Linked DNA regions of Homo sapiens: all the other regions are linked to region 3. The links are contacts of gene promoters, found by promoter capture Hi-C in blood cells and fetal thymus (Javierre and others, 2016). All regions are on one chromosome and are shown on one strand. The core of a region is centred on a gene start or on the middle of the fragment in contact, and the rest is flanking DNA. Distances in the headings are between cores, read along the strand shown. Region 1 overlaps CDC42SE2 (CDC42 small effector 2). Region 2 overlaps CDC42SE2 (CDC42 small effector 2). Region 3 holds the start of HINT1 (histidine triad nucleotide binding protein 1).

The links. Contacts are between HindIII fragments. The CHiCAGO score rates a contact against its expected background, and 5 or more counts as called.
Region 1: a contact is called between a fragment that was not itself captured here and the fragment with the promoter of HINT1 in region 3, in 11 of 17 cell types (total CD8 T cells, naive CD4 T cells, non-activated CD4 T cells and 8 more). The highest score is 14.8, in total CD8 T cells.
Region 2: a fragment that was not itself captured here is called in contact with the fragment with the promoter of HINT1 in region 3 in 15 of 17 cell types (naive CD4 T cells, non-activated CD4 T cells, total CD8 T cells and 12 more); the score reaches 23.5 in naive CD4 T cells.

The regions. Positions count from the first base shown.
Region 1 is chr5:131,339,867-131,342,566 of GRCh38, reverse strand. All of the region lies in intron 2 of CDC42SE2 (CDC42 small effector 2), which reads right to left. Among named protein-coding and RNA genes, the nearest start is that of CDC42SE2, 77 kb to the right of the region's middle. The HindIII fragment of the contact is 1,115 bases long and covers 828-1,942 here.
Region 2 is chr5:131,356,804-131,359,640 of GRCh38, reverse strand. CDC42SE2 (CDC42 small effector 2) reads right to left here. Exons shown (of 5, transcript NM_001375635.1): 3 at 94-432. The coding sequence starts at 147. Among named protein-coding and RNA genes, the nearest start is that of CDC42SE2, 94 kb to the right of the region's middle. RefSeq lists enhancers at 1,509-1,598, 1,619-1,668, 1,689-1,768, 1,859-1,908. The HindIII fragment of the contact is 1,585 bases long and covers 490-2,074 here.
Region 3 is chr5:131,163,780-131,166,760 of GRCh38, reverse strand. HINT1 (histidine triad nucleotide binding protein 1) reads left to right here and starts at 1,505. Exons shown (of 3, transcript NM_005340.7): 1 at 1,505-1,666. The coding sequence starts at 1,556. RefSeq lists enhancers at 1,136-1,185, 1,456-2,115, 2,116-2,776 and silencers at 1,336-1,385, 1,396-1,475, 1,686-2,325. The HindIII fragment of the contact is 11,885 bases long and covers 1-2,981 here.

The DNA.
Region 1 (2,700 bases), core at 136-2,635, 180 kb before region 3:
AATACAAAAAGTTAGCTGGGCATAGTGGCGGGCGCCTGTATCCCAGCTACTCGGGAGGCAGAGGCAGGAGAATCACTTGAACCTGAGAGGCGGAGGTTGCAGTGGGCTGAGATCGGCGCCACTGCACTCCAGCCCAGTGACAAAGTGAGACCCTATCTTAAAAAAAAAAAAAAAAAAAGACTATTAAAAATGGCAAATCTCTGACCTGTGCCTCTCCATCTCTTAGTGGGAACTGTTTTTAACTTACCAAGCTGCTTCTTCTGGTATTTACCTTTTTTTTTTTTTTTTGAGAAGGAGTCTTACTCTGTCACCAGGCTGGAGTGCAGTGGCACAATCTCAACTCACTGCAACCTCCACCCCCCCAGTTCAAGTGATTATCCTGCCTCAGCCTCCCGAGTAGCTGGGATTACAGGCATGCACCACGACACCCAGCTAATTTTTGTATTTTTGGTAGAGATGGGGTATCACCATGTTGGCCAGGATGGTCTCGATCTCCTGACCTCCTGATCTGCCCACCTCAGCCTCCCAAAGGGCTGGGATTACAGGCATGAGCCACCGTGCCCAGCGTGGTATTAACTTTTATAATTGTAAGTAAGATGCCCATTGCTACTTCTCAAATTATCAATTTTTAGACTACTTGGTATAATTAGCTATCTTTTTTTTTTTTTATTGAGACAAGAGTCTTGCTCTGTTGCCCAGGCTGGAGTTCAGTGGAACAATCTCAGCTCACTGCAACCTCCACCTCCTGGGTTCAAACGATTCTCCTACCTCAGCCGTCCTATCTTTTCTTAAATAATCTTTTGTTTTCTCTGAATAACTGCTAAGCTTTTTTAATTGCTTAGTTTTTTTATGTACCTATATCAGATCTGTAAAACACCTGTAATTTCCAAATACCTGAACATATTAATAGATGTACTGATTCAAATATTCTTTTGGTTTCTTCCTAGCCTCTTGCTTCAATCCTAACTGCTCTAAGTTGGTATGTTCTGTTTCTGTGAATCATGTCTTCCTCTTCTCATCCTTCTCACTTATGTTGTAAAATCATACACATACTCCCCTGGCTTCCTAAGAAGTGGGACACAGAATGAAAATGTTTTAATTCCTTACATTTGATATTTGATTGATCGTTTAGTTGAATATAGAATACCAAGACAAAAATCTTTCCCTCAGGATTTTAAAGACACTATTTCAGTATCTGCTAACTTCCAGGGTTGTGAGAAGTCTGATGACATTCCAATTTTCCTTCCTTTGTGTGTGATGTATTTCCCTTCTAGAAGAGTTAAACATTTTTTTCCTTAACTCTTGGAATTCTCAAATGCCACAGAGATGTTACTTGGTTTGGTCCTTTTTCATCATTGTACTGGGGTCTGAATGACCTCTTTCAAACTGGAAAATGTTGTCCAGGAAAATAATAGTACCTATACCATGGGACTATTGTGAAAATTAAACAAAACACTTAGTATACAGTAAGTACACAATGATGCTGATGATTAATATTTTTCCAAATTTGCCAATTGATTTGATTATTGCTTCTTGCCTCTCAATCCTTCCTTTGAAGTTCAACTTCCTTCTTCAGAAAGTACATACTCAGGCCACGCATGGTGGTTCGTGCCTGTAATACCAGCACTTTGGGAGGCTACGGCAGGCAGATCACTTGAGATCAGGAGTTCGAGACCAGCCTGGCCAACATGGTCAAACCCGACTCTACTAAAAAGACAAAAATTAACCAGACATGGTGGTACATGCCTGTAATTCCAGCTATTTGGGAGGCTGAGGCACAAGAATCGCTTGCACCTGGAGGCTGCAATGGACTAAGATCATGCCACTGCACTCCAGCCTGGATGACAGAGTGACACTCTGTCTTGGAAAAAAAAAAAAAGATACTCAAACAATTTTTCAGTAATATGTGCTCTTTAATGGTTAACTGAGAAGGTGGTAAGCTTCTCAGTTGTTTGTCTAAGACTGCAGTTTTTAATTGTAATTTTGGAATAATTTCAAACTTACAGCCGAGTTACTAATACAGAACAGAAATCTCCCATGTATCCTTCACCCAGATACGCTGTTAAAAGAATATCTATACAGTAGTTCCCTCTTAACCATGAAAGATAATGCTCCAAGGCCCTCAGTGTATGCCTGAAACCATAAATATTACCAAACTCTACATAAATTATGTTTCTGCCTACACATTAACCGACGGGTAGCATATAGAGTAGATACACTGCACAAAGGGATGATACATGTTCCAGATGAGACACAGCATGACGGTTCAAAATTTCATCATGCTACTCAAAATGGCTGCAATTTAAGAGTTATGAATTATTTCTAAAAATTTCCATTTAATATTTTTGGACCACAGTTGGCCAAAAACTGAAACCAAAGAAAGCAAAACCACGAATAAAATGGGACTACTGTATTTTTTCCTTTATTCTTGCACGACAGTTTAGCGAAGTATAGAATTCTTGGTTGACAGTGCTTTTCCTTCAGTTCTTTGCAGAAGACCTCTATTGTTGCTGATGAAAAGTAGACTATCAATCTAATTCTTGGTCATTTGAATACAAAATTCTTTTTTTGTGATAGGTGTTTTGAAGATTGTCTTCGTACTTGGCTCTGATTTCACAGAATCTCTAGTTTCAGATTCATTTTTATATATTTAGGACTTTTACCTGTTTCTATTCTGCTATTTAACCCACCTATTAATTT
Region 2 (2,837 bases), core at 33-2,532, 190 kb before region 3:
GCAATTACTGCTAGGATCCCAATCCTCAGTTTGAGAACCAGTGGAAAGTTTAATAAGCACCCCACCTGATGTGTCCACATACTTCATACTTACAGGCTGAGGCTGTTCTGCAATACAGCAGTTGAAACACAACCAGAATTCACTCATGCTTACAGTCCACAGTAAATGAGCACCAATGAAGGTTCCAAATCTCAACTCGGGAAGTTCCAAAAATACGCTCCTCAATACGATGATGTCCAGTGATGCCAAGATGAAATTTTATTATTTCACCGTGTTTTTGTTCCTGGAAGTCAAGTATCTTACACAGTCGATTTAATAAAGAAAAATTTGGATTGTTTCCTTTCTTTGCTTCTGGTTCTACAGAGACTCCTTTCTGAACCACGACGAAGGTATAAAAATTGTTGTCTTGACCCAGGGACTATAACAGATAGTCTAGGGAAAAAAAAGAAAAAGTAAAAAAAAGTTAAACTTTACTTATCCTTGAAAGCTTTTATTTCTTAAAATAAATATTACCAAAAAAAGTAAACACTGAAAAAAAATCAAGATTTTAACAAACTGATATTGATTCAACAAATTATTTTTTGAGCAACTTTTTAAGTGTCAAGTTCTAGGTGTAGTAGTAAAAGCAGACAGAAATCTTTGCCTTCGTGGGGCATCCTATTTTATGATTATAAAAGTATGGATTATTTTAATGAGTTAATTTTTAAAAATCACTAATTAGAACATTATGACTGCCACATACAAGTTTCTAATTCCAAGAAGAAATAATGATCACCATTTTCATATAGGTTTCTTCAGTTGAGTCCTTTATTCTCACAGACAACTCAGACAGTAATTGACACAGCAATGAATTCTAAGGAGATAATCAAGCAGGTGCAGTTCATCAAAAACCATAAACAAACTTATTACCTTATCCACTGGAATTAGAGCTGTACATGAAAAATGGGTAGAGGTTAAGTTGGCTTTCTTCTGTGAATCGAGCTATTAGATCCCTACCACTCCCACCACTCCTACCATCATTACTAGAACGCATGTTAGTCAAAATACTCTACATCCCACTGTGGCAAACCAAGCTGAGTCTATCAGAATCCTTGTCAGGCAATGTTCTATCTGCAGTTGGACAAAGAGTTAAACCTATTTTTTATTTCTGACTGCCAAGCTGTTGACTTTAAGGATGTCCTTAGTCAATAATATCCTATACCTCATGTGGAAGATGGTTTTGAGGTAATAATGCTGACAAGCAGCGGCAAAAGAGAAGTGGGAAGTCAAGATGACATCAATCTCTGATTCTAGGCATCCCTAAGATCAGTTTCACCTGTGCACCAGACGTTTGGTTTTGTAAGGCAACATATCTCCCTCTTTAGCCTGAAGTTATGATGAAGTGGGTTTATATCACTTGCAGACTACTACAATAGTCAAGTTAAGATGTCCAATAGACAGTTTGATATATAAATCTGAAGCCAAGGAGAAGTTTTGCAATCATCAGATTATGACTAAAGCAATGAATGATCTCTAGGCAAAACGGTATCATGACAAGCAAAGTGTGCTCAACAGAGTCCTCTGAGTAAGAACAGCATTTAAATCATAGGTAGAAAAAGAGAAGTCTACTAAGGAGGTTTGGGTGTTACCAGAATTAGAAGAGGAAAATCCGTTAAATGTGGTGTCACTGGAGCCTGTTTCAAGGAGAAAGTGGGTGGCAGTATTAACTGCCACTGAGATAGGAAAGACTGAGGACTATTCCTTAGACTGTGCAGCAAACACAGTGTGGCGCTGGCAACAGCAGTTTCAGTAAAGTAGTGTGGGTAGACATCAGATTACAGGAGGTTAAGTGAGTGAAAGGAAAGCAGCAGAGTCAACAAGTGTAGACAATGTTTGCAAGAAAAATGGATATAAAGTTTAAAAAGTAGAGTGGTAGAATGAAGAAAATGAGCCTTCCTTGAAATGAAAAGATCAAAGACTAAAGATGTATCAATTTGACTGTGTTCAAAGAGATGTTAACATTTTTGTCCCAAATGGCGAAATATAAATCACTTATTTGTAAATTCTGGAAAGAGACCTCACACATTTATAAGCTTTGCCAACTATAGATCAGTAACAACCACATTACAGGATCACAGAGTCCTGAACATTAAGTGAAATTAAATTCCTCCCTTTTGCTTTTTCCAAAGCCACGACTCTAAACCTGGAAAGACAGAAGTGACGGTGATTTTTGTAGCTGTACAGATAAAGATGTAATGTAAAGTTAAGGCACACACCCTCAGTGTCACAAATCTGGGTAGTATAACAAGGCATGAATTCAGGACCCTGATTCTACAGTCCAGAGGACAAGTCCTCTAACATACAGGAAAATAACATGTTAAGATTTAAGCATACATCCAAGGAATATCAAAAGAAAGAAAAGTTTACATTTTTGCCATTAATTAAAATTCAGAACCTGGAATGTTTATTTAAGCAGAGATGAACATTCCTTATCTTACCCAAACTCTAAATCAAGGAAGTGGCAGTCTTTGGCCAATGAATTGGGTAAATACTGTGAAGTTTTATAAGCTCAAAGAATAGTATCACTTATTTCCTCCATCCAATCCTCTTAGCAGGAATATAAGAGAAAAGGCTTAAATATACAGTCTCATGAACATTATTTCAGTGCTGCTATTTAATAAGTTTAATTTCACCCTGGATCAAAAATCTTGCCCATTAAGAAGCCTTTGTGAAATTAAAAAAAAAATTTTTTTTCAGATAGGGTCTCACTGTGTTGCCCAGGCTGGAATGCAGTGGCATGATCACAGATCACTGCAGCCTTGACTTTCTGAGCTCAGGTGATCCTCCTGCCTTAGCCT
Region 3 (2,981 bases), core at 256-2,755:
AGTAAGTTGCGGACATGATACCCATAGCCTTAAATACTTCAGTGGGTTTTTCCTACAAAGACATTCCCTTGTATCAGTAGTTCTTAAAGTATGGTTCCCGGGCCAGCAGCAACTGTATCACCTGGAAAGTTAGAAACCTAACTTGTAGGGCCCCACCCCAGATCAACTGATTTTGACAATTTTTCTGTGGTTATGAAAGGAAATTAACATGACTTCAAAACTATTATCTAATTTATAGGCATTATTTAGATTTTACGAATTGTCCCAGTAATGTCTTTGATAGCAAAAGTACCAAATGGACACTTTTGAGATTAAAGGCAACCACATTCAATAATTTTGCCAAGACAAGGGTAGTAATGTAATCATAAAAGGCAGCTGAGCTCACATCTGTAATCCCAGCACTTTGGGAGGCTGAGGCGGGTGGAACACCTGAGGTCAGAAGTTTGAGAACAGCCTGGCCAGCATGGGGAAACCCTGTCTCTACTAAAAATACAAAAATTAGCCAGGTGTGGTGGTGCGCGCCTGTAGTCCTAGCTACTTGGGAGGCTGAGGCATGAGAATCACTCGAACTCGGGAGGCAGAGGTTGCAATGAGCCGAGATTGTGCCACTGCAGTCGAGCCTGGGCGACAGAGCAAGAATCTATCTAAAAAAAAAAAAGGCATTGAGGAGGTATACTTTTTCTTAATACGTACACTTAGAGGTCTGGTATGATAACTGTAATTGTCTATAGGATTTTATAAATGGATGTCCTTAGTGACCTTGACAAGAGGGAAATGGACTCAAAAATGAAAGATAAGAAAGCAGACATGGTATGTAGAAAACTTCTTTATAAAACGAGCAAAGATACGGAGGGGGATGTGGGATTAAGGAAGGTTTTTTTTTTTAAAGTGGGTCATTTTATTAATACATTATGTTGATTGCTGCTGGGAAAAATTCTTTGCAGAGCAGTCTAGGGAGGTTTACAAACTACTGATGCCTGGGGCTCATCTCCAAAGATTCTTATTTAATGGATCTGGGCTGCAGCCAGGTTCACGGGGATTTTTAAAAGCTCCCCAAGTGATCTTAATGTGTAGTCAAGATTGAGAACCACTGGTAGAGAGAGAAAAAAACTCTGTTGAAGAGAGGACTTAAAATCTGCTGCAGCAGCAAGACCTTAAATAATCTAAGTGCTAAGTTGCAGCCAGCACCACTTAAATTATCAAATCTTGTCAGTTACAGTATCCAACTTTCCCTACAAGCATCCATAGGCAGACGAAGGGTTTATACCAGTAACTGCATTCCCCAGGAGACAAGAAAGGAGGATAGAAAAACGACTTAGGAATCTCCTTGGAGCTCAAGACCAGGAACTTCCCCAAGCCGGAGGTCCCTGAGGCGCTCTAGCGCGCTGGCCGCACTCGCAGCCCAGGTCGCCAGTGCGCACGCGCAAGATTAGGTGGGGCGCCAGAGCCGGGGCACCTGCGCAGGCTTGGCTGCGCCCTCTCGCGCCGCACGCTCTGCGGGTTCCTCCCTTCTTCCGAGCCTCTCCTCTGGCCGCCGCGCGGGAGAGAGGCCGAGATGGCAGATGAGATTGCCAAGGCTCAGGTCGCTCGGCCTGGTGGCGACACGATCTTTGGGAAGATCATCCGCAAGGAAATACCAGCCAAAATCATTTTTGAGGATGACCGGGTAGGTACTGGGCACCACCTCTCTCGCCTGCTGAGGTGGGTATCGTCCGCGGATCCTCGGGTTTCTCGCGGAGGGAGAGGAGGGGTCGCGAGTGTAGCGGCGACGGGAGGGGACCTGGCTGCCCTGGTCCAGCGGGCCCCCAGCCAGCGGACAGGGCCCGGGCACTCCGAGGCGGCCTGCCGGCGCGTGCCGGCGCTCCGGTTACTCGTTATCTGCCCCGGGCGCGGGCCAGGCCGCCGGGCGCCCTGAGTGCCGCACCGCGGGGCCTGGGCGCGTGTCGGGGCGCACTGGGGCCCCCGCGTGGAAGCCCGCCGGTTCCCCGGCTGCCTCGGACCTTGCCTGTATCAGGAATCTCGAAATCTCGCCAGCGCTCTGCCTGACAGAGAGAAACCCGATCGCGCCCTGACTCAGGCCCAATCTCCGCGATCTCCCGCGCACAGCCGGCCTGCCAGGGCCCGGCGTTCCTGGGCGCTGCTCAGCAAGGCATTGTGCTCGAGGGCCCCAGGGGCGCTGGGAGGTGCGCGGGCCGTCTGGGCCTGCCGGCTTCCTCCGCGGGGTGCGGCTTGCCACCCTCACCCCTACCCCTATCCCTATCTCCACCCCAAGGCCTACCCTGGGCTAGCGAGGCGATCTCCTGAGATAAGAAGTGGGCCCGCGTCTGGGATTTGCTTTCCGTTGACCTCTCCCGCTGAACATTTTGGACTTACAAACAGCTGAATGATTCTTTTTGTATTCAACAGGAAGTAATTTTATGCCAAGAGACTAAGACTGTAGTTTTTGTTGACTTCTTGTAGGTGAAATCCCAGTTGATGTGACTTTGAGATATCTTGTGTAAATTATTTAGTGGCCAGTTGTATTTTTGGGATTGGATCTCAGATAAAGCTGGGCAGATTGGCTGATTTAGATAGAACAAATTTTGTAAACAGTTTTGTTAAATTTAGGAAATATAAAATCTAAGAAAAACATTTATTCTACTAATGTCGGTTAGATTCAAAACGTTATCAAAAATTTAATTAGGTTCCTCTAGGTAAATTAAAAAAAAAAATACTTTGTCTCTACTCAGGGGAAATTCTTTGGTTTTAGAAAAAATATTTCTTTTTAAAGTTCGCAGTTGCCTTTGAGAAATGGTTCTTGAAAAATTTACATTTGAACCACCGAAGTCCAACTGTAGAACGGCAGGAAGCATTCTAAATGAATCAGCATTTTGTAGGGAGTACCCAGTAGAATTACTCCTGAGACAAATAAGTGTGGATGGGTTTTATTAAAACAGCTTTCACTTCAGCAGTGAGCAAGAGATTCGAAAATATTCATGTCA